4 separate regions of the Homo sapiens genome follow, and regions 1, 2 and 4 are each linked to region 3. The links are contacts of gene promoters, found by promoter capture Hi-C in human tissues and cell types (Jung and others, 2019). All regions are on one chromosome and are shown on one strand. The core of a region is centred on a gene start or on the middle of the fragment in contact, and the rest is flanking DNA. Distances in the headings are between cores, read along the strand shown.

Region 1 (6,462 bases), core at 3,963-6,462, 500 kb before region 3:
GTCCGAAGGGTAGAACCATCTGTCGCTGCTGTACTGCCCTCGTCGTCTGAGGCTGGAGCTGAGAGAGTAACGAGAGCTGTTACAGGTTAAAAAACAAACAAACAAACAAACAAACAAAAAACAAAAAAAACCCCTCCTTGGGATGAAAGCATCAAACCACATAGTGCATAGGACACAATGCAGTTTATATATCCTGTCGTCAAAGAAAAAAGGGAGAGATTTGCTTTGCTGGTTAATCACTAACAGGAACAAACACTATACACGGTGCATTGCAAACAGTACTTAGACAGGAGTGAAGAAAACCCAGTTCACTGGGTATTTCCTTCACTGTTTTACATTACAGTGCAAGTAGAACAGTGCAGAGATTCAGTAAGAATCTGTGACATGGACGCTGAGTTTTCTAGCTAAAATGCTTCATGGTCACCATTGTTTAGGTGTTACTGACACCTGCTGAGAGATCTGAAACTAGCCATTACCATTCAAAGCATAGAACTCTGAATTTTAATGAGACTTGTTTTGAAATCAGTCAAGTTTTGCTTATGTTAGGAAATCACTTAGCATGAGCTCTTGAATCAACCCTGTTTTGGTTTTTTTAGCAAGTGGTCCAGAGGGGAGCTCATTGGGAAATTTCACACCTCCTAATCATCCTCATCAGATGCTAATAATGAAGCAAGGAAATTCCCCAGAGACAGCCACAGCATCCAGGATCAGGGCTGAGCTGAGACAGGAGGAAAATGCTGGATGAGATACATGGGGGAGGAAAGCCAAGACAGCCACAGAGCACAGCGGGAACACGACTGGCACAACACAACAGCAACCTCAGAGCCTGAAATGACAGCAACTAAAGAGACCTAAGAAAAGCAACAAGCCATGGCAGCAGGTGGGGCCAGCCGCTCTCTCCCTTTCTTAACTACCCAGGCTAAAACTTCCAAAAGAAAAGAAAAAAAACAAACACAAGGAAGCATCAGTCTAAAAAACTATAAATCAACCCTTAAATTACTCAGGGGTTGACCAGGTATCTCCATTTGGTCCAACTCTCTATTCAGGAAACATTTTTTTTTTTTTAATCAGATTAGGGAAAAGATTGAAAATAAAGAGAAGATGAGTTCTGGAGATTTGCTATAGATTTTAATTGTCCATAAAAACCCTCTCTCTCAAGCTCACAGATCCTGATGGTTGGTCACACTGAACAAGAATTCTGAAGTATAATCTAGCTTCTTATAGCTCTCCTTTTATTTGCAAATGAAGATAAAAAAGGTAAAAGGTATGAGTTCTATTTCTTGTCTCTCTTTTAATACTGTCTAAAATGTTAGAACTCTGACAAAGAACGCTGGAAGCTGAAGTGGAAGCCCTGTAGCTGATCAGCCTGCATGCCGCTCTCTCGGCTTTTCCGTGGGGAAGTAGCTGAAGCCAGGCAGCATGCAAAGTGTGAGGAAGCGGAGCTGTGCGCGGCGGGGCCGAGCCACAGCACTACACCCTCCACACCCATCTTTCTAAAGCCAAGGCAGAAGCAGGAAGTCCAGAATGGCCTGTCAAAGCAGCTGCCCATTACACTCTCACAGCAGTGGAAACAAGGCCTGAGGGTCCTGGGGCCCTGAGCCGTGCTCCTTGCTGTGGACAGTTACCTGATGCTGTGGTGTCAGAGAGGGTTCCTGCGTCCAGAGAGGAAGAGCTGGGTGCCTGGCCGGACAGTCCCAGGCTCTGCAGGCCCAGGGCACTGCTGCTGCTGCCTGGGAAACAAGTGGAGAGTGAGCACAACATCCCCTCCAGGTCCCATCCACAGCGCTGCTTTGGCCACCTGCTGCCCTCAAGAGTCTCCAAACACCAGCATGTGACCCCCTCTGGCCTAGAGGAAGTTAGCTAGCAGCCACTGCTGTCCACCCACCAAGTTCAGTTACAGAGATGGTGGAATGCTTCCTTCAGCTCAGGCAGGACACAGGCTGGAGGAATCTAAGATTCAAGAGGAAATAACCCAAACTGGCAGAAACTATGAGATTGGCACTCAGACTGAAATTCCCACCACATCCCTCTCACTCTCCACCTGTATCTCTGAACAGCTCTCACCCAGATCAACCTCTCCCCATATCTGGGGACAAACTAAGTCAGCTGGATATCAGTAACTGCCAAACCCTCTTTTCCTGTGCAAGGCCAATGGGCCGCTTTGTTCTTGGCATGGCCTTCTACCTTGTTGGTCCTGCTGCAGGCTCAGGGCAATGGCTAGTTCAACCATGGTCTCGTCATCTGCATCAGGTGGGATGTCCAGCATGGGGGGGAAGCCCTCTGCGCCTGCCAGCAGGGCCTCCAGGGGAGAGGGGTTGCCATTGTTGACATTTTCAGCTGTCTCCAGGACCATCGACTCAGACTGCAGAGAGAAAGCTCTGTCAGTGTCCCATGGTAAGTGGTAACTTTTGGAAGTCCACTGAATAAGAGCTAGAGGAGAGTTGTGAAGCTCCTCCTCCCCTTCTCCTGCTGCCAGAGACTCACCACCATCTCAAAATCTCCATGGTCCACCTCACTCTGTTCCTGGCTTTCCTGACGGATGTGACCACCATTCGGGATCCCTGATGACTGCATTTTCTCATCTGCATCATCATCGTCATCATCATCCTTGTCTCCTGAGTCAAAGAAACCCCAGTCACCTGAAGGTGCTTGCTTTCCTCCCTTGGCACATGGTGCCATAAGTCAGGTGGCAACAAAAACCCAAGACAAGCTACCAGCTAGCACCCTGGGCTTTAGCGGGAGAACTCCGGGGTGCTATGCCTGGCCTTGTTCTCTTACTTCTTGGACCTACAGCATCTGGGAAGATGGAGTTGGCTGCGACAGCTTGCCCCCCACAAAAATAAAATGTTCCAGCTGGTGAAGGAAACAAACTTGGATTCCAAAGGGATTTCCATAAAGGTGAGAGATCTAAAACCAGTAGGCCTCCCAAACTCACGCTAACTCTCAGGAGACCTTGGATAAGACAGGAAAAATCATATGATTGGGATCTTTACCTTTTGTCTGTCATGGCAGATTAGAATTTATTTCACTATTTTTTTCTAAAACAACTAGGTCAGTGAGATTTTCACACTACGTAATTACTATGAGAAGAACCAGAATTGAAGTGTAAAACCATTGACTGGAAACCAAGGACACCACTGCAGGTCCTGCCTGTGCCCACTTTTGTGTGAAGGTGAGAAGGCCTTCTAATAAGGAAGATGTCCAGGTGAGACTCCTAATTGTCAGAAGAGGATAGAGACCTCACCTTCCACTCGATGGATTGCTAAAGCTTGTAAATATGTCCGTTAGAAACATAAACTATCTCCACTCTAGGTTCTTGCTAGGGAAAAGAGCCACAAACTGCTGCCTAACCCAAAAGCTTAGGCAAGATAAATGATATGCAAGGAAGATTTTCTGAAAGTCACAAAGTTGTGTACAATCCTCTAGATGTGCACTGTCCACCAGCCACATGTGACTACTGAGCACTTAAAACATGGCTGTCTAAAAGGAGATGTGCCACTAGTGTAAAATACATTCTGGATTCCCAAAATGGTACCAAAACAGGCAAAATATTTCACTAATAAATTTTTTATATTGACAAGATGTAGATATAATATTTGATATACTGGATTAAATAATTAGTAAATCAATTTTACTTTTTACTCTTTATAATATTGCTATTAGAAAATTTAAAAGTACAGGCCGAGCAGTGGCTCGCGCCTATAATCCTAGCACTTTGGGAGGCCGAGGCGGGCGGATCATTTGAGGTCAGGAGTTCGAGACCAGCTTGGCCAACATGGTGAAACCCTGTCTCTACTAAAAATACAAAAATTAGCTGGGCACGGTGGCACGCGCCTATAATCCCAGCTACTAGGGAGGCAGAGATTGCAGTGAGCTGAGATGGCACCATTGCACTCTAGCCTTGGTGACACAGTGAGACTCTGAAAAAAGACGAGAGAGAGAGAGAAAGAAAGAAAGAGAAAAGAAAAAAAGAAAAGAAAAGAAAGAAGGAAGGGAAAGGAAAGGAAGGAAGGAAGAAAAAAGAAAGAAAGGAAGGAAGGAAGGAAGGAAAGAAAGGAAGGAAGGAAGGAAGGCAGGAAGGAAGGAAGGAAGGAAGGAAGAAAGAAAGAAAGAAAGAAAGAAAGAAAGAAAGAAAGAAAGAAAGAAAGAAAGAAAGAAAATTTAAAAGTACATAGTGACTTTCATTTGAAATTTACTTCTAAATCAAGCCAAGTAACCAGAATTATATAATTCTGTTATTCAGACACCTTTTAGAATTGCTTTTACTGAATCGTAAAATGTTATGCCCTTGACTGTATTGTGTATTGTGTATTGTGTACTGTGTATTGTGAGGGAAATTCCTGTGAAATTTGCTATCCAACTTATTGTAGGTAAGTCCACTAAGGATTCTGCCCCTTTGGCAACAAAATGGACATTTAATGAAGAGCTTCTATCCCAAGAAAAGTTATGTTTCTGTTTTGTCTTTGGTCACTGTGATTTTATTTTTGCTATGGCTCTTAGGAAGCTTTCAGCCAAATATAAGACCCTCGCTTACCAACCATGCAGGACCTTTGTGATGTGAATTTTCTGTATTTTGATTTTACTATGGTACTTTTATTTTCCCATGGCCTTTAATCTTTATTTTTATCCTACTTACTATATACATTTTGATGTGCCACCTAAATTCTTTATGGGGTGAGGTAGGATTAGAAAAAAGACAGATACATAAAGTCTCCAGGACCTTGGTCAACATGAGCAGCATGCCCAATGCTACTGTACCTCCCTCTCTCCCCTCCTCCCAAATACAGGCTTGAGCCTAAACCCAGACCTCATATTACCCATTGGAGTGTTGCTTCGAGGGGAAGAGGGTAAAGTCACATGTCTCCGTTTGTTCCTGGGCCTTAGGACTCGAATTAGAGCTTGTTTACAAGAGAAGCTCACAGCAGGATCCTGAGGTTTAAAAGGAAACTGTCACGCTTTGCTCTCATATTATTCATGAAACTCTCTATAAAACACTTTCCTTTCTTGGTCACTCACTCACATGCAAGTGGAATACCTCTCTACTCTCACCTGCAACCCAGCGGACCAAGTTCAGCAGGTTAAGTTAATCCCCGCTTCCTGTTCTGGCACACATTAAGAGCCATTCGCTAACCTCCTGTCTCTCAGTTCCTGGGGATGGACTGGCAGGTCATTTGCTCCTGAGGCCATTTTGGCCCCTTACAAATGGTTCTGGCTTTTTATCAGATGATCAAGCCCCCAGCGCACGTCTTAGCTCTGTGCTAAAATCAGTAGTTTTAACACTTAGCTTCTGTGAAAGGGTCACTGGAAATAGAAATCTTGATGTACTACTTTCATTCATGTGCTCATTTAAGTCACAATTCACCGAGTTACCTAGCACTTACTATGTAGCAAGCAGTAGGCTGTCCCTGGTGATTCAGCACTGAATAAGAAAGACTGAGCCCATCCCCTTTCCAAATCTTTCTCTTCCATGGAGTAAGATCTTAAAGCTTTTATTGATATTTGAAACTTCATTCCCTTCAGCTTCCTCTAAATATATTTTATTTCATTAGCTTAGCAAGCTAAAAACAATTTTCCAGATATTCCCTGGCTGCTGCGAGCTCTCTGGGATTGTAATGCTACGTACAGGACACAAGAGCATCTGCATGTAGATCTTGGATGCTGTGTTAATACAATCCAGCTCACAGGTACAGTAGCCATGGATGATGTCCACCAGAGCATTGACAGTAGCTTCAATATGAGTTAGTCCTAAAGGAGAGACAAACATTATTTGAAAATCTGGAGGAAAAAACTCTAACTACTTGAGAGTCTGAGACAAAAGTGTAACCTTTTATCTCCATGTAAAAGGTCATGCAAACAAAATGACAAACACTCACATACACACTCATTCACACACAGTAGCCTGTATTATTTATGATTTGTTTCATTAACAGTTTCCTAAACTCCCAAATTGTCCTCAAAAGTCTTTCCAGATATCTTGAGTCACAGAAATAAGTAGCTGTCCACTCTCTCTGGATATCAAAAGACAAGGCAAGGAAATATGAAGAGGAAGGCAGATACTAAATGTTCCCTAATATCCCCCAACCTCAGGTGATGACAAAACATGACCTTGACTTGCCTTTTAGGTTTACCACCCAAATGTCCTCCAAACATGAATGAGCACCAGGATCATCCTACTTTTCTATATTGCTATTCAGACCCTTTACTCTTCCATCTGAATTTTCAATAGTGTAAGAAGTTAGAGACCAAATAGCTTAGAAATAGAATAATCCTCAAGATACTTGTGCCTTTTGAGCTGGCTTTAAGCCAAGTTGTCAAAGATTTTTAAAAACAATTATAAACCACTGAGACACACACACACACACACACACACACACACACACAGTGCCTCTTTATGTAAAATATTCAACCCCGATGAAAAGATATGGTAGAAGAAAATCCCACTCTGCCACACTGCTAAATTCC
Region 2 (5,892 bases), core at 3,033-5,532, 460 kb before region 3:
TGAAAGAGATACACTCAGATAGTTTCGGATAAAATTGTTCCGAGAGTTCAGCATGGAAGAGGTGATGAAGTTCAAAATGTTGGAAGCCAGACCTAAGAACTGAAAGGAACACACACAAAAAAGCTCTTATCAGGGTCATAAGCCCAGCGTTCCTATAAACTCTGATTACAAATAGAAAATAAAATATGCTCATAGGTATCCTGCAATAAACACAATGAATGAAAGAATCAGATTTTAAATCACTTACAGTGGGCCTAAGTTTCATTATGAGTCTCTCTTTCCCACCTAATTCTACTTACACAAAATGGCATTCCAGTTTAATATAACAGATGTTACAAAACAGTGTATGAAAACAGGATTTCCAAATAGACTGACCCATTTCTTTTGTTCTCCTAAGGTCCTTTGTCCGGCTCCAATTCACTACTGATATATTCAATCCTGAAGCCTATATGAATGATTATTACACATATATAGAATTCCTAGCTCTTCTCTATTAAAATTAAATTGAATTATTGTATAAATGTTTTTTGTCCACATCCTTGACTGTAAGCTATATATATGAAGGCAAGAACTGTATCTGACTCACTCACATCATCAGAACGGGGACTGACACTTACTAGATAATACTAGTTGAACCAACAGTTCAACCACAGCAAGCACTGATGATATATCAGACCTATGCTAAGCACTTTATAAATAGTCTCTCTTTAAGATGTCACAACACCTTTAGATGCAGGTACAATCACTCCCATATGATAGGAGACAAAACTAAGGCTAGAAAAAATTCAGATTCTTGCCCAAAGTCACAAAGCCATTAAGTGATTCTAAAGGCCAGCAGAGAAACAGTAACAGTCACGTAAGTTATTTAATGACACATAATCAAGACATATAAGTCCTAAGCAAAAATATCTTTAAACATTACAGTTATCCAAGCCACAAAATGTTTGCATTCAAATTATCTGCTTCTCATACCCCTAGCTCCCCATGTCCACTTCCCCTAAACCTTAGAAACCTACTCTTACCAACTCAGGATCTTTGCGACTCGCCAGAATGTTGCCCTTCTCACCAGGGGCCTGCTTACTGGGGCTTTTAACCCGAGGAGAGCTTTCCAGTGGAGGAGGTGGGGGAGGAGGCGGAGGTGCTGCTTTCTCTTTACTGGGAGAAATAGTCTCCTCAAACCATTGCCCCAAAATAGGCTCACTGTCATCGTCTGAATAGAGAAAGATAAAGTAACGAAAATAAATATTTTTTAAAAGTGTTTTTGGTGCATCTGCTTCCTAAAAGTACTTAAGTCAAAAGGAATACAAGGATATCCCAATTGTGATGATGGTTACAAGATTGCATTTGTGTATCAAAACTCATCTAAATGCATACATAAAATAAGAGCAAAACTGATCATCAATAACTGATTCAAATGTTTGGATAGATTCAACCCGTTAAGAATTTCTCACATTATTGCATGTAAATTATACCCCAATAAAACTGATTTCTTTTTTCTTTTTTTTTTTTTTTTTTGAGAGGGAGTCTCGCTCTGTCACCCAGGCTGGAGTGCAGTGGTGCAATATTGGCTCGCCGCAACCTCCACCTCCCAGGTTCAAGCGATTCTCCTGCCTCAGTCTCCCGAGTAGCTGGGACTACAGGCTACAGGCATGTGCCTGGCTAATTTTTGATTTTTAGTAGAGATGGGGTTTCACCATATTGGCCAGGCTGGTCTCGAACTCCTGACCTTGTGATCTGCCCACCTCAGCCTCCCAAAGTGCTGGGATTACAGGTGTGAGCCACCGCGCCCAGCCAATTTTTCTTTAAGGAGCCCAACAAAGAAAGAAAAACAACTTCACATTATTTTACTGGTAACAAGCCAAATATTTTCAAGAGCGAATTTATACTTGCCTTATCAACCATAAATCACAGGACGGTAAGAATCACACCTCCCTTCGTATTTCACATTGTTCCCACAAACCTGATTATGAAAGAATCTGAGGTACTTACCTTATTCATTCTCTCATCAAACTAAGGCAGGAGGGCATGCCAGTGGGTTCACTACAACAGGATTAGGTTTCTCTACTCAAGCTTCCCTAAACTATGACTATGATAACATCCAAACCGAACACCTCACATGTGACCTTTTGAGTTTCACTGAGAAAGCTTAGAGCAGAGGTCACAAAATGAGTCAACACAGGAAGAAATATGGAACAATTGAGATGTTTTCTGATTTTGGAGGGAAAGGAATGAAAAGTAACCCAGGCTTGGCTGAAAGTTGTTTCCATCATTCATTCATCAACAGCTCAACTTGCTCTTAAATAACATGTCATCTTTGAATGCACATAAAACCAAGGTCCAGGCTAAGCAGGTGAAAACAAAATGGAAACTTTTGTTTGGTCAGGAAACTACAGGAATCTGCTGAGAACACTCCTGTTGCACTCTATAGCTTATCTCTGGGAGAGAGAAAAGAGCGGCCTCTACCTTGGCTGCTGTCCTCCTCCGTGCTACTGAAATCGTCCTCATAGTAAGTATTGGAGTCGGTGGAGGCGCTGGCATCGCTGCTCATGGAGCCCTTCCTCTGCCGCTGCAGGACACATGCCTAGGAAAATGACAATTACAAAACCGGAGCCATCCTATTTAATCTCATGCATCGCATGAAAACTTTCTCCATAATCTCTTTTATTTTTTCCTAAATCCAAGAGTATGCCTCTTAATAGCTCCCTTAATTAAGGACTTTCATCACTTTACCCTACAAAAACACTACCAACCAGAGACGTGGACAAGAATTGAAAACAGGAGTGTTTCCATAGTGTCCTCTATGCTTCTGCTTCAGTATGCCAATCATCACAAATCACCAAGTAGCCACGTGTATCACAAAACTGATAATTAATAACTGATTCAAATGTTTGGATAGATTCAACCCGCTAAGAATTTTTCACTTCTTCAACACCAGTACCAAAACTTTGGGTCTATAAAGGTCATGGTGTGTAGTCAGTCTTATTCATTTCAAGAAAGTTTTATATATATATATATATATACATATATATATCATATATATAAAATGAGACATTCTTCTAAATTATCAATGGCTTAACTCCCACCCACCTTTCTGTAGGAAGTTGAAAGTAACGTCAAGAGCAGGTTCATCAGTGGGACAGAGTCAATCAGCCGTTGAATCCTCTGTATGGAGGTGCTCTGGGCCATAATGCTCAAGGCTGCAGGGGGGCCATCTGTCTCCCAACCCTGAAGGCAATGATATCAAAGGGCAATTAATGATACTACTCAGCCAGAAAAAACAACTTGAGTTGATGGATCAAGCTTGCTTGGCCAGAAGTGGATCCCGCAATCAATATGCTGATTACCATGGGGATAACCTCCTCACCTTGTGAAGGGCCTCCACTTGTAGGTCTTGAAAGAGAGACGTTAGCAGTTTGATGGCATGGTTTGCCAATATTACTGAGAGTACCCCAAATCCCTGATGCCTACACAAAGAAAAAGGAAAACACAATCCTTAAAATAATTAACAATAAATTACAACTTCTGAAGCAGTGGATCTTGCCATTTTGGGGTTTCAGACCCCTTTCAGACTCTGTGGACCTTCAGAAAAAAAAAATTGTACATACATACATCTGCATATAATTTCTGAAGTTCACAATCTCCTTGAACCCCATCCACAGATGGCCTAAGGATCTGCAGGCTTCAGGTTTAGAACTCCTGGACTAGGCTGGGCACGGTGGCTCACACCTTAAATCCCAACACTTTTGAGAGGCCGAGATGAGAGGATCACTTATGCCCAGCAATTTTAGACCAGCTTGGCAACCTAGAGAGGGAGACCCTGTCTCTACAAAAAAATTAAAAAGTTACCCAGGCATGGTGGCATGTACCTATGGTACCAGCTACTTGGGAGGCTGAGGTGCACCACTGCACTCCAGCCTGGGTGACAGAACAAGACCTTGTCTCAAAACAAAAAATTAAATAAATAAATAAATAAATAAATAAATAAATAAATAAAACCTCCTGGAATAGAAGAAACTCCCAAATGGAAAAATTTTTGGAATTTAAACAATCAGTTCAAGGCTAATGGGTTATACAAAGATGCTGACTTTTAAATGTAGATTGAACTTTTAAAGAATCATTATTTTGAAAAGAAAAAGGTTTGAATTACCAACTTCTATAAAATATCTGGAAACAAATCTAAGAGAATAAAAAGAGAGGCCTGGAGCAGTGGCTCATGCCTATAATCCCAGCACTTGGGGAGGCCAAGGTGGGAAGATCACTTGAGCCCAGAAGTTCAAGACCAACCTGGGCAACATGGCAAGACCCCATCTCTACAAAATATGAAAAACTTAGCCAGAAGTGGTGAGGCACACCTGTGGTGCCAGCTACCCAACAGGCCGGGGCAGAAGGATCACTTGAGCCCAGGAGGTGGAGGCTGCAGTGAACTGTGTTCATACTACTGCACTCCAACCTGGGCGATAGAGTGAGGTTTTGTTTAAAACAAAAGAGAGAAAAGAAAATTACATTCAAGTAAAGTGTTTTCCTCCTGTCCAAAATCTCCACATAACAAAAGGTTAATATATATGATTTGCAAGTTCATATAAATCAAAAAGAAAAAAGAACAAACACAGGCCAGATGCGGTGGCTCACATCTATTATCCCAGCACTTTGGGAGGCCAAGGCAGGAGGATTGCTTGGGGCCAAGAGTGCAAGACCAGCCTGGTCAACACAGCAAGATCCCATCTCTGCAAAAAATTTTAAAAATTAGCTGGGCATGGTGGTGCACACCTGTAGTCCTAGCTACTCAGGAGGCTGAGGTGGGAGGATCACCAGAGCCCAGGAGTTCAAGGTTACAGTGAGCTATAATCCTACCATTGCACTCTAGCCTAGGAGACAAAGTGACTCTACCTCTGTAAAAATAATAATAAAAAAATTAAAAAGAAAATGACAAATACCAAAAAGAAAACCAAGGCAAAGGACATAAGGCAGTTTACAAAAGAAATACAAATGACCAATAAATAGGTGAAAGGAAATACAATCACATTAGTAATCAAAGAAATACAAATACATGAAATATCATAGCATTCTCTCCTCTAAGACAAGCAAACATGAAGACTAATGATGCCCATTGTCAAAGAGAGCATGGGGAAATGGGCATATAAGCACACAGCTGGTGTCAATGCAGATTAGTGTTACTTTTCTAACGAGTAGTTTGACAAAACATTTCCAATGTTTAAATATGTGAGCCCTTTGTCCTAACAACGGTACTTTTGGGAATTCATCCCAACAGGACAATTAAGTTCCCAAAAGTTTATATTTCAGGAAGTTATCAAAACAAGACATTTGGAACAATCTAAATAAGCGCTTAGCAATAGGGGAATTAGGCAACTACGGTATATTTACATAGTGGAATACTGCTGGCCATTAAAAACTTAGACATTTTAATAGTGTCACTGAAAAGATGATGCAGTATTTCATATACACTGATCCCATTTTTGTAAACTTATATATATTTTATATGTGCACAGAAAAATGTCTGAAGGAATGTTTACCAATTTGAGTGGTAGAATTTGGGATCATTTTTACCTTTCCTATTTATGTCCATCTGTATGGCTTGTCACTTATACAACATACATGTATTCTTTTAAAATATGAAGAAACAACAGCCATTTTAAAAGCATAACTGCTACTTCTAAGGATATACTTCTTGGCATTCTTTCATTTCCCTTTACAATGCCAAGAATGAAAATGGCCACTCATAAAATCACAAACTACCGTTTGCTCTGGAACACTCTTACCTCCTTACTTCGCCTAGTATCTATCAACTTACCATGTCAATACCGGCTTCAGATTTCAGCTTAATTAGCAATTCCTTGGGGAAGCCTGCTCTGATGTCCCTAGCCAGGTCAAATG
Region 3 (6,201 bases), core at 3,631-6,130:
CCCCTCTGGCTTAGTTCGTTCATAATACTTTTTCTCCTTTTTTTCTTTTTTTTTTTCTGGAGACAGAGTCTCGCTCTGTCACCCAGGCTGGAGTGCAATGGTGCGATCTCAGCTCGCTGCAACCTCTGCCTCCCAGGTAGCTGGGATTACAGGCACGCACCACCACACCCAGCTAATTTTGTATTTTTGGTAGAGATGGGGTTTCACCGTGTTGGCCAGGCTGGTCTTGAACTCCTGACCTCAGGTGATCCACCTGCCTCAGCCTCCCAAAGTGCTGAGATTACAGGCATGAGCCACCACGCCTGGCCTCTCCTTTTTTTCTTTTAAATAAATATTATTATGATGATTATTTTTCGAGACAGAATCTCACTCCATCACCCAGGCTGGAGTGCTCTGGCATGATCTCGGTTCACTGCAACCTCCGCCTCCCAGGTTCAAGCAATTATCCTGCCTTAGCCTCCCAAATAGCTGGGATTACAGGCACGTACCACCACACCGGGCTAATTTTTGTCTTTTTATTAGAGACGGGGTTTCACCATGTTGGCCAGGCTGGTCTTGAACTCCTGACCTCAAATGATCCACCCAACTCGGCCTCCTAAAGTGCTGGGATTGCAGGCGTGAGCCATCACGCCTGGCTCTTTTAAATAAATATTAAACAACTGAACCTGGAACCTTCAGAACACATTGGTTATGTGAGATCCACTCATCTGTTTATCTGTTGCACAATCTGCCTGGGTGTGGCAGAACATAAGCTCCTTGGAGGCTGGGACCTTATTGGTCTAGTCTGTTGTTGTGTCCTCAACACCTCTGTGCATGTCTGGCACATAACAGGCACAATAAGTATTTGTTGGATAAATGAATGACTCCAGACAACAAATCTATGGAGTACATAGCACTACTAACTGCATTTTACAGATAAGGAAACCAAGGCCCAGGTGTGAAACAACTAGCACAGAGTCAGAGGGCGATGCAGGAACAATGTAAACCCTGAGCCTCCCCTGATGAGTCCGAATGGCTCCTCCCAGCTCCATACCTGGAGGTGTGAACGCTCTCATCTTTATCATAAAAAGAGAGGGACTGTGTACCAACCCTCTGTTCAGTGGGCTGGACTGGGAAGACAGGCCTTTTGCTTGTTTTCATTCTATTTCTCCAGCGAGAGTGCAGAGGTTTGGACCCCCGTTGAGGCCAGACTGACAGGATTAGAGGAAACAGCTGGGCTGAGTCCGTGCCCTGCAGGAGGGAGCTCACATTCCCGGACTCTGGGAGAGAGCAGCTCCCCACAGCTCAGTCACATTCCAGGTCGGTCATTTTCCTGAGCCCAGATGTTTGCTAATGAGCTGGGGAGAGGGGCTTTTAGCCCTGAGCCCCAGCTCTGGGCCCCACATTACCTCGGCCCCAAGAGGCTGGCCCAGGGCCAGGAGGCTCTGGCCTCAGGCCCATGCCCTGTGCCAGCCAGGCCTGTAGGGGCAGCTGGAACACCACTGCCAACCAGGTGCATCTGCTCGAGCTGGGACACTCTGACGTGACAGGTTCTGCCTTTCCCGCTGGGGCCCCTGGGGTCCATCTTCAGTGCAGCATCCCTGCTGCAGCCTGATGGGGAGGAGCACTGAGGCAGCCGAGAGGGTGGAGAGGGTGTGGTGGGCAAGGAAGCATGGACTTTGGTGTTGACAGGTCTGGGCTCAAGTCCAGGCTTTGTTAATCACTAGCAATGTGGTCTTGAGCAGGTAATGACACATTTTGGTGCCTCGATTTTTCTTACCTGTAAAATGGGAACAATGATGGGACTGTGGTAAGGATTAGAGGAGATGAAGCAGACAGAGTGACCAGCATAATGCCTGGCACAAAATGGGTAGATATTACTACCAAGTTACTTCCCAGGCCCCCTGCCCACACTGTAGCTTTCCCGTCACCAGACAGATGGTGACTCAACTCCAAACCCTTTGTCCCTGATTAGGGGGTTGGTGTTGTTCTTGAACCTCCCGGTGTTTGAGAGATGGTGGGCTGCCCTGTCAAGGGCACTGGCTGGAAGTTGTGGCTTCTACTCCTGGCTCTATGTGTGATCTGACCAGCTCATCAGGCTCCACAATTAGCTTTCTGCAATGTGGGAGTGGATTCTTACAAAATGTAGAACTCTACTTTCTACCCTGCTCGGGGTCTGCATGAAAGATGGCGGGGGTAAGCTTTGGCTGCAAAATGGTAAATATTTCCTGAGTGTCTACTGTGTACAGTGCAGTGAGGCTGGTTTCTGCCGTACATGGTATATAGTTATCCAACAGACACTAGCTGGCATGGGCTCTTACTGTGTGACTTTAGGCGAGTTACTTAACCTTTCTCTTGACGTTCCTTTTTTCACTTTTTTTTTTTTTTTTTGAGACAAGGCCTTGCTGGAGTGACAAGCTCATTAGGTTCCACAATTAGCCTTCTGCAATGTTGTCCAGGCTGGAGTACAGTGGCACAATCATAGCTCACTGCAGCCTCAAACTCCTGGGATCAAGTGATCCTCCAGCCTCGGGATTTTTTTCACTTTTATTATTTTATTTGTTTGTTTGTTTATTTATTTATTTATTTGAGATGGAGTCTCACTCTGCCTCCCAGGCTGGAGTGCAGTGGTGCGATCTCGGCTCACTGCAACCTCCGCCTCTCAGGTTCAAGTGATTCTCCTGCCTCAGCCTCCCGAGTAGCTGGGACTACAGGCACACGCCACCACACCTGGCTGATTTTTGTATTTTTAGTAGAGAGAGGGTTTCGCCATATTGGCCAGGCTGGTCTCGAACTCCTGACCTCAAGTGATCCTCCTGCCTTGGCCTCCCAAAGTGCTGGGATTACAAGCATGAGCCACTGCGCCTGGCACTTTTAAAACAGAGACAATACTTACCTCATAGGTTTATTGTGAGAGTGGCAACAGCTTGCAATGGGATGAGGCACATGGTAAGGTGCTCAATATGTGTGAACTATTATAACGGTCATAGTTACCATTAAGGGAAGACCTATCTGTGCTACATTAATGGGGGATAATAATTACTTTATTCGCTGGGCGTGGTGGTTCATGCCTATAATCCCAACACTTTGGGAGGCTGAGGCGGGAGGATCACTTGAGGCCAGGAGTTGGAGACCAGCCTGGGCAACATGGCAAAACCCCATCTCTACTAAAAATACAAAAACTAGCTGGGCGTGGTGGTGGGCGTCTGTAATCCCAGCTACTCGGGAGGCTGAGAATTGCTGGAACCTGGGAGGCAGAGGTTGCAGTGAGCCGAGATCACGCCATTGCATTTCAGCCAGGGCAACAAGAGCAAAATTCTGTCTCTAATAATAATAATAATAACAACAACAACAACAACAACAACAACTTCATTCAACCAAATACATTGTACATCTCACCTGGCCTGCCCATAAGCAATGGAGACACTGAAATAAACACGATTCCTGCCCTCAAGGTCTAATGGAGGAAAGAGATGTACACAGCTATTCTAGAGGGAAATTGACATGAACAGAAGTTCTCATCCTGTGCTCCAGGATCACACTGGAGGAGGGAGATGCTCCCAGAGGGTCTTGGGAAGGCTTTCCAATCTGGAGCTGGAAGAATGTTTGCCCAAGAGATGTACACAGTTATTCTAGAGGGAAATTGACATGAACAGAAGTTCTCATCCTGTGCTCCAGGATCACACTGGAGGAGGGAGATGCTCCCAAAGGGTCTTGGGAAGGCTTTCCAATCTGGAGCTGGAAGAATGTTTGCCAGAGATGAAAGGAGGGGAAGGGAATTCCGGGCAGAGGGAAGGGCGCAGGCAACAGCTAGGAGGCGCAGATGCAGGCTGGGTGTGGAGGGTGCGAGTAGGCTGGAGTACACCAGGGAGTTCCCAGCAGGCCACTAGGAGCCACCCAGGATGCCCGGCAACCTCATGAGTCAGACAAGCAGGGCTGTGTCTATCTGGAAGTTTCCAGCCAAGCTAGGTAAAACACATGGACACAGGTAACTATGCTGTAAAGCAAAATCCCCAAGTCCTACAATCGTGTCCCAGTGGTGTCCCTGGGCCACCACTTTCCAGAAGCAAAGTTATTTTCTCACCCCGTTGTTAAGCACACAGAATAGAGAAGGTACGGCCGCAATCCACCCAAGTGCCCACTGATTAGATAGGAACCCCCGAGGTGAGGCTGGAAGCTGGGGCCAGGAGCTCCACTCTTCCCAGGAGTCAGAGAAGTGAGTTCATTTGCTGGCTTTTTAGTTCCTAATAAGTCCCTGGGGCTTTTCGGGATGCTTAAGCCAAGGGCGTGGGGCCGAGAGCGACACTAGGATAACACTAGGCAAGGCTGAGCAACCCAGGCTACCAACAGCACGGACTTGAACCGGGTCGCATGCCGGAGCGGACGGGATGAGGTGCACCGCAGAACTGGGGACTCCTGGTGCCGGGACGCGGCGGGCTGGGGCGCCCCACTCTCGGGGCAAGTCTGCAATGCCCGGTGCCCACAAAAAGGACACATCCATCTTTGTCACCCCGAGGCCTGGCACGGCCTGACGGCCCAGGCTCGGTAAAAGTCGGGCGGAGAGAGTGGAAGCGCAGAGAAACCCGGGGAGGGCGCTTAAGAACGGGCCAGGGCGCCCGGCTGGGCTGCCCTGCCTCTCGGGCGCCGGCCAGGCGTCCCGGCCGCCCCACCACGCCGTCGGAGCGCGCCGAAGCTCAGCCCGGGGCGGGCGGGCCAGGAGAGGGCCCGGGGCCCCTGCCGCCGCGGCGCCCCCTCCTGCGCACCCGGAGGGAGAGGCCGCGCGCGCCCGCCCGCTCTTTCTGCGCGCGGCCCTCCCCGCTGCCCCCGCCCTCGCGCCCTGTTTGGAGGGAGCCACCCTGACGTCGGAGCCGCTCCCCCGCGCCGCGCGCCCGCCCGGGGCCGCAGACAGCGCGCAGCGCAGCCCAGCCGAGCGTCGCGGGGCCGCCCCCCGCCCTGCCGGCCGCCTCGCCGAGCCTCCTGGGGCGCCCGGGCCCGCGACCCCCGCACCCAGCTCCGCAGGACCGGCGGGCGCGCGCGGTAAGTCCCGCCCGGGTCGGCACGCGGGCGCCCGGCTTCCAGAGGCTTCGGCCGCGGGGGCAGTGCCGCGCCCCCAGCCCGGAGCTGCGTCCCCCGGCGCGTCCGGCGGCCGCGGGCACCGGGTGGAGGCGCCGCCGCCGAGCTCAGGAGCCCTGGGGGACCTGGCGGGCGCCTCCGGACGCCGGCGCTGGGGACGTGGGCGCGGCACGGGGTGGCCGGGGGGCACCGCCGCGTCCGGAGCCCGTCCCCAGACTCGCCCCAGGGTTCCGTTTCTGGATCGGAGTTTCCGCGGCCGGGGGAGAGAGGGAGCGAGGGAGGGAGATGCGTGGCCGGGCGGGCCGGGCTCGCATGTCCCCCGGCCGTGCCCGGGCCTCGCCGCGCCGCGCCTCTCGGCTCTGGACGTTTCCGCCTCCCGCGGCCCCCTCTGCTTCGGTCCCCACGTCCGTGTGTCTGTCTCTCCGTCGCTCCGTTTCCGCCGCTCACTTTCCCCTGGTCTGCCCGTCTCTTTCCGTTCCCCGCCTGCCTCCGTGTTCGGCTGCCCGCGTTTGTGTCTCTGCCTCTGGCTTTTCTCTCCCTCTCTCTGTCTCTGCGCTGCCCTCTGTGGGGGTCTCGCCCTGTGTCTGCGCCTCTCCCTGATCCCCCGCCCTCCGATCCAGACAATCCCCCAGTGTCGGAGGCTCGCCTTCCCCCAGCGGGGTTCACGAATAGTTTCCTAGACCGGGTGCGGCAAACCCTCCCCCTGCCTCCCGCCGGCCCCGAGGCCTGGCCCGGGTCATCTCCCTGGAATTGAGTCTGGGGCAGGGAGAGCCAGCCTTTCCGGGGGCTCAGTTTTCTTAAGAATTCCACCCCCGCGAGGCCGGCTGGACGACAGGCCCTGCTGCGGGCCACCTGCCCGGCCCGCTCCCAGGGCGGGGCGATTCTGATCGTTTACAAGCGGCGGCAAAGGGGGCAGCCGCCTGCCTTGGCGTGGCCGGAGGTTGGCGGGCATCAAGGGAGAAAGCCACACTTCCAGGCTTTCGGAGGCCCTCGCTCCCCAAGCTGGACGCCACCAGCCTGTAACTAGGGGCACCCCAGGAAAACAGAGGTCAGGGCTGGAGGCCAAAGACCGGGCGCTGGCGGGGAAGCAATTTGTCAACAAGGAGCCCCTCACCCTTTGTTACTGCGGAATGGGGCCTCCCTAGACTC
Region 4 (6,490 bases), core at 704-3,203, 280 kb before region 3:
TTCTTTCCTAAATGGAAAGCCAGACAGCACGGGCAGCACAGGGCTGAAATCAATCCCCACAGTCAAGAGGCTGAATGACATGCTCAAATCAGAGCTCCCCAGTGGCCAGGACAACACAGGGACTAGCTTGCAAAGACTGCAGAGAAGTCAACTTGGACAAGTGTTGAACCATGAAGTGGGGGGGCCTCAGAAGCTCCAGGAAGATGAGGAGGGGGTGAAATGACAGACCAACTTGGGAATGACTGGGAGCAAAGTGCTGGAGTCACCTGTTTGCTTGCGTCCACTGAAGAGCTAACTCTTTCAACTGAGTGCCATCAGTTTTACCAACGGTCCCGGCGCCTTTTAAGACTTTCCTAACACAGATTAACATCTTGTTTTGTTTTTTGAGACAGGGTCTTGCTTTGATGCCCAGGCTGGAGTGTGGTGGTGCGATCACCGCTCACTGCAGCCTCGACTTCCTGGGTTCAAGTGATCCTCCTTCCCCAGCCTCCCAAGCAGCTGGGACCACAGGCATGCACCACCATGCATGGCTAATTAAAAAAAAAATTTTTTTTTTTTTTTTTTTAGAGACAGGGTCTTGCTATGTTGCCCAGGCTGGTCTCAAGCCGTTTATCAGCACAGCCAATTACAATTAAACATCTGGTTGGGTTTTTGTCTATCGTCACCTTGGTCCCTAAACGTGGATCAGCTAAAAGCCTAATGTGTCAGTAATTCTCTTCTTCTCAGAGTTTTAGGTCGTTTCTCCCTGAAAATCACTCTTCCAGTTGAATAATGTCATAGTCACGGATATAGATTCTATGTCCGTAACTTTTCAACCACAGGACTTCTGGGGGGAAGGAGAAAAAAGGGAAAACATAATACTTCACACTCAAAATGACCTAATTCACAAAAGTAAAAAGAAAAGAAAATGTTTCAGCTCCAAAAGCTTTATGGAGTGTCTGAAGCTGAGGTGTGCGTGGGGTGGAAACGTGCTCGGGGAATCTGAGCTGTAACTATGAATGACCCAATTCCCAGGCCTGGCCAACACGGGGCTGCAAATCTAACAGGGAAAACGGGAGGGGAAGAAGGGGCTTTGAAGCTGCTCTTTACTCCTTCCTTTCACATCACCTCCTGGGAGAAGAGCTGGATTCGTGGCTCGAATACAAAGGCTCCCAACAGATAATGAGTACATGCCACATGCCACAAGAACCAAGGCCAGGACAGACCTGCTGGGAGCAGGGCTTTCCAGCATGAGCCAAGAAACAGACTCTGTGGTTCTAGGGTTCACTGAGACATGTCCTTCTGGCTATTAGTGGGCTGGGCCACACTCACAGGACTTGGACCTCTGGCCTGAGATACCTGTGACGCTGAGGCACAGGCAGCAGCCAAGTTAGGGGCATTATTAAGGTGAGCTCCATAGGTGCTGGAACAGGGCTTTCTCTTGCAGTCAACTTCACTGAATAAAGCCAAGGGAAAGGCAATATTTGGCACCAACACAGTGCAAAAGACTTTTTTCTTATTTGTAAAATCAAAGAGCTGGATCAGAGGCCAGCGTAGAGGGTCCTCCCAGTTCTGACATTCCAGGATTTGGTGGTTGCATCAGGGCCTGTATGAGGCAGACTGAGCACCACAGGGCAGGTTCCTAACATCTTAGTCTCTGTCAAACTGCTGCTTACACACCTCCAGTGACAGTGAACTCATTACATTCCTGAGGCAAACATTTCTGTTCTGAACAACTGAGACAGTTCTCTCTGGACTTGAGTGAAGACTTCTCACTACTGCCTTCCAGAATCACAAAAAAACAAGGACTTCATGCCCTTTCCTTGCATAGTCCTTTCAAACATTTAAAACTGGCTTACACCAAGATTTCTCTTTTCTGGCCTTCTCCTCCTTGTAATTCCTCATACGACTCAATACCTTGTTTATCCTTCTGAACATACTCCAGCTTGTCAATGTCCTTCATAAAAGAACAGAAAACAATGCCCCAACTAAGTGTTAACCAATGCATAGCAGGGACCAGCACATCTCTTGGCAAACAGGCTACTCCTCCCTCCAGCACTCAAGACCAAATTAGCTTTCATTAGCAATCACACCTAATCCATGCTACACATACTGAACTTGCAGTCATCTCAAATGGAGTATTTTTTCTTTTTTTTTTTCTCTCTTTTTTTGAGACAGGGTCTCGTTCTCTTGCCCAGGTTGGAGTGCAATGGCATGACCATGGCTCATTGCAGCCTCGACATTCTGGGCTCAAGTGATCCTCCCACCTCAGCCTCCTGAGTAGCTGGGACTACAGGTGCATGCCACCACACCTGGGTAATTTTAAATTTTTTTGTAGAGACAGGGTCTCGCTATGCTCAGGCAGGTCTTGAACTCCTGGGCTCAAGTAATCTTCCCACCTCGGCCTCCCAAAGTGCTGGGATTATAGGCATAAGTCACCGTGTACAGCTGAATATTTTTTCTTATGTGTTGCCATGAAAATACCTCTCACATCCTGGACTTGAGAACTTGGTAGACTGGACCCAAGAATATCACTTTCCACTCAAATCTGTGACAGATCACTCTCGTAGACATGGCTTCAACATTTCAACGTCTCTTTTGGGATCCCGAAGCTGTTGTGATCTGTATTCTATCCAAGCCACTCTTCCCCCGAAGTCTTTATGCACAGGAATATACGTGAAAGCAGGAGACTGTGCAAATGAGGATGTCACTGAGTTCCAGATCGCGTGGATTTCCAGAAAGAGCACGGGCAGCCCTAGTGAAGGCTTCTGTGGAGAAACTGATGGTCCACCAGGAAGGAGGGCTCTGGTCTGGGCACTTTTTTCATGTTGGAGTCAGTATAAAGATGGAAACCAGGCCGGGCATGGTGGCTCACGCCTGTAATCCCAGCATTTAGGGAGGCCGAGACGGGCAGATCACCTGAGGTCAGGAGTTCGAGACCAGCCTGACCCACATGGAGAAGCCCCGTCTCTATTAAAAAAACACACAAAATTAGTCGGGCGTGGTGGTGCATGCCTGTAATCCCAGCGACTTGGGAGGCTGAGGCAGGAGAATCGCTTGAACCCGGGAGGCAGAGGTTGCGGTGAGCCGAGATCATGCCATTGCACTCCAGCCTGAGTAACAAGAGTGAAACTCCGTCTCAAAAAGAAAAAAAGAAAAAGAAAAGATGGAAACGCCCACAGCCTTGATGAGGCAGAAGTAGAAGGGAACACAGGAGGTGGGGCTGGCTGGAATGCCGGCTGAAGAGCTCAGGCTAAAAAATTTGAAGTGTTGATGTAACTGAAAAAAGCAGAATTCCTCTATGATCTGGTGCTAAGCTAGGAACCTGGGCCCTCAAACAGCTCCAACATGTAAGATTCCACGAGTCTTTCTTCTCCTACCCTATGTTCTCCCGTCACATGTATGGTGTGTTCTGCTTCTGGGATCTCACCAAGGAGTAGCAGCAAGACTTGGGACAAATAAGTGGTCTTAGGTCAGGCATGGTGGCTCACGCCTATAATCCCAGCACTTTGGGAGGCCAAGGTGGGGGGATCACTTGACTCCAGGAGTTCAAGACCAGCCTGGGCAACATAGTGAGACCGTGTCTTAAAATATATATATATATATATATATATATAAATAAAATAAATGGTCATGAGGGACACTTTTTGCTGTACTGGTGCTTGGTCATGACAAAGACAAGGTCATACAGGCATGAGTTCAAACAAACTCCTGGCCGGGTGCGGTGGCTCATGCCTATAATCCCGGCACTTTGGGAAGCCGAGGCCGGCAGATCACCTGAGGTCAGGAGTTCGAAACCAGCCTGGCCAGCATGGTGAATCCCATTTCTACTAAAAATACAAAAATTAGCCAGGCATGGTGGCAGGTGCTTGTAATCCCAGTTACTCAGGAGGCTGAGACAGGAGAATTGCTTGAACCCGGGAGGCAGAGGTTATAGTGCCTTGAGATGGCGCCACTGCACTCCAGCCTGAGCAAAAAGAGCGAGACTCCATCTCAAAAGAAACAACAACAACAAACAAACAGAAACTCCCAAGCTCCATGACTGATTTTATGGCAAAGAGGAAGAGAATAAAACCCAGAGGCAGAGCCATTCCCCGGCAGCTGAGGTTCTGGCCCTAAAACAATGCCTTTTTGTTCCCTCCTAGGGTAAAAAAGAAACTAAAATCCCCAGCTATCAGCAGTAGTTTGTTTTTCTGATCATCCTTAACATCCTTACAACAAAACAGGCACCTGGTCTTCACAGGTGGGAACAATCCAACTCCACCTCAGGAAAAAGAGAAAACTGTCCATTCTGCTCAGAGGGGCATCCAAAACCTGGCTCCCTTCCTCGTGGTGTAGACCAACGTTCCTTTTTGCTCTGCTGGCTGCCATCTAGCCAACTTCAAAAAGAAGCTGAGCGCATCCCCTGTCCAATGGATGGGCGTGGGTGCTGCCCAGTGGGCACAATGTTGCAAAGTCCAGAGAGCTGCAGACGGCACACGAGGGGCTGGAGAGTGTGGGTTCTCTTCCTTACACTGGTTATACCAGCCTGCACTCAAGATGCATCTGGCAAACAAGCATGAGGAGATATAAGGAAGATCACAAGAAAAAAATGAACGGGCAAGCACTTGCCATGGCACCTGGCAGAGCAAGCACTCAACAAGTGGTGGCTGCTGGTTTTCATCAGGCTCTTACTTTCTGAACAGAGGGGAGGAGAAGGCAACCTCGACGTGTTGTGAGCTGCCCTGGAAGTGTCCGTCAGAAACACAAAGTGCCGCTTACTGGGAGCGGTTCCGTACCCACTGGCACAGGCTCCACACAAAATGGAGAAAGATCAATGCTTGGCTTTGGGCGGGCCATGTCCAGAGCTGATGCTGAAACTCAACCACCCTTGTTTGTGTGTTGAGACCAGCTGTTTTCACCATGGTTTAGGGAACACGGCCCAGAGGCTGCCCATGGACACGGGACAGGTATTCAGCGGAAATTCCTTCCAGTACACACAGGTGCAACAATCCCCCGAGTCAACATACCAATCAGCTTAGGCATGTGCGACTTTAATGCCAGCTGCACTTAGAAGGCACATCTGGACTGTGGCTGCCGCGCTTTAGTGTCTCGCTTTTACGAGGCTTTTATTTTTTTACTTAAAGAAATAATGAAGGCCTCTCTGGAAACAATGGTGCCGCTGCAGGGGCCGGCTATCTGGCTCTGGGATCTGGTTTTGGGATCTGGCCAAACTGTCCACACTTGGCACCACTGCGACTGTCTTCTGCCCTCTGGACTACTTGTGAAAACACTGCTGGCCCCATGGAGCTACCTCATGAGCCGTCAACAGTCAGGGCTTTCTGGGCTTCCAAGTCATCACTCTCATCCAAAGCTGCCATTGTTGAGAACTCATTCTGTGTCAGGGGCTTTGCATATCTTTTTTTTACAGTTAAGAAAACTGTAACCCAGAGAGATAAGGAACGTGCCCAAGTCACAGGCTGAGAAGCAGGGATCTGGGAGTAGATGTCAGGCTTGGCTGGCCCCAGTGCCCATATTCTGCCCCATGCCAGGCTGCCTGGCCATCCTGAGACGTGCCAGCTGTGGTGGGATGGAGCGCAGGCGGACAGAACAGGGTCAGCCAGTAGGTTAGATGCCCGTATGAAGCCACACCACTGAACACACAGCTGCCCCAAAGAGGAGAAAGTCAGGCCAAGTGCAGTGGCTCATGCCTGTAATCCCCAGCACTTTGGGAGGCCAAGATGGGAGGATCACTTGAGGCCAGGAGTTTGAGACCAGCCTGGGCAACAGAGTGAGAGCCCCCGTCTCCATTTTTTTTCTTGGAAAAAAAAAAAAAAAAAAACGGTGGAGAGAGTCCGAGTTAAAAAAGGAACCCGCTGGGTGACCAGGAATCCGGGACATGCCCCGAGCACCCTGTACTGGGGATTTTGGAGGGTTCTCTGCCTCACTGAGGCAGCTGGGGCTGCTGGCTGGGTCACTGCAAGAATGCCTTTTTTTTTTTTTTTTTTAATTAGACATGGGGTCTCTCTCTGTCACCCAGGCAGAAGTGTGGTGGTGGGACCATAGTTCACTGCAGCCTCCACCTTCTGGGCTCAAGTGATGCTCCCACCTCAGCCCCCAGACACTGAGATTACAGGTGTGAGCCACTGTGCCCCACCGCACCTATTCTTGATACTTGCACAAAGCAGTTTTCCATCACAGAAGCCTCGGAAACATCTCAGTGAGGGGAGTGCAGGGTCTCTGGCAGGATGGGGGAGCTTGACCAAGGGAGGGAGCTGGTCCCTGCTTCCAGCAGCAGAGTTTCACTCCAACATGTGCAACGGCCCAAACCAAAGAGTGACTGTGTGCCATCTGGTTAGAGGAACCCAAGAATTCTAGAGGCATCAGAGTCCCTGATGCTGACGTGGGGATCATGTTCATAAGCAAACTTGTTTTCTGCACACTCCTGTTTTCCATTTAACTTTCTTTCAGCAGATGAAAATCAGACTGCACATGCCAAGCAACCAGACACTGGCCTGCAGCCTTGGGATGC

The links. Contacts are between HindIII fragments. The study calls those that stand out against the background at their distance.
Region 1: a fragment that was not itself captured here is called in contact with the fragment with the promoter of NBL1 in region 3 in 2 of the 25 tissues and cell types used here (adrenal gland and heart right ventricle).
Region 2: a fragment that was not itself captured here is called in contact with the fragment with the promoter of NBL1 in region 3 in 1 of the 25 tissues and cell types used here (IMR-90 fibroblasts).
Region 4: a contact is called between a fragment that was not itself captured here and the fragment with the promoter of NBL1 in region 3, in 1 of the 25 tissues and cell types used here (dorsolateral prefrontal cortex).

Annotation. Positions count from the first base shown.
Region 1 is chr1:19,139,163-19,145,624 of GRCh38, forward strand. It overlaps UBR4 (ubiquitin protein ligase E3 component n-recognin 4), which reads right to left. Exons shown (of 106, transcript NM_020765.3): 54 at 5,624-5,745; 55 at 4,818-4,929; 56 at 2,485-2,615; 57 at 2,185-2,362; 58 at 1,626-1,730; 59 at 1-58. Among named protein-coding and RNA genes, the nearest start is that of UBR4, 68 kb to the right of the region's middle. RefSeq lists an enhancer at 211-960. The HindIII fragment of the contact is 3,798 bases long and covers 3,314-6,462 here.
Region 2 is chr1:19,184,077-19,189,968 of GRCh38, forward strand. UBR4 (ubiquitin protein ligase E3 component n-recognin 4) reads right to left here. Exons shown (of 106, transcript NM_020765.3): 12 at 3,365-3,464; 13 at 3,088-3,225; 14 at 2,464-2,581; 15 at 1,023-1,210; 16 at 1-99. Among named protein-coding and RNA genes, the nearest start is that of UBR4, 23 kb to the right of the region's middle. The HindIII fragment of the contact is 7,277 bases long and covers 645-5,892 here.
Region 3 is chr1:19,639,431-19,645,631 of GRCh38, forward strand. NBL1 (NBL1, DAN family BMP antagonist) reads left to right here and starts at 4,881. Exons shown (of 4, transcript NM_005380.8): 1 at 4,881-5,016. The region is part of intron 1 of MICOS10-NBL1 (MICOS10-NBL1 readthrough); the gene reads left to right. RefSeq lists an enhancer at 3,893-4,728 and a silencer at 4,627-4,966. The HindIII fragment of the contact is 7,978 bases long and covers 1-5,860 here.
Region 4 is chr1:19,362,715-19,369,204 of GRCh38, forward strand. All of the region lies in intron 4 of CAPZB (capping actin protein of muscle Z-line subunit beta), which reads right to left. Among named protein-coding and RNA genes, the nearest start is that of SLC66A1, 54 kb to the left of the region's middle. The HindIII fragment of the contact is 6,424 bases long and covers 1-5,165 here.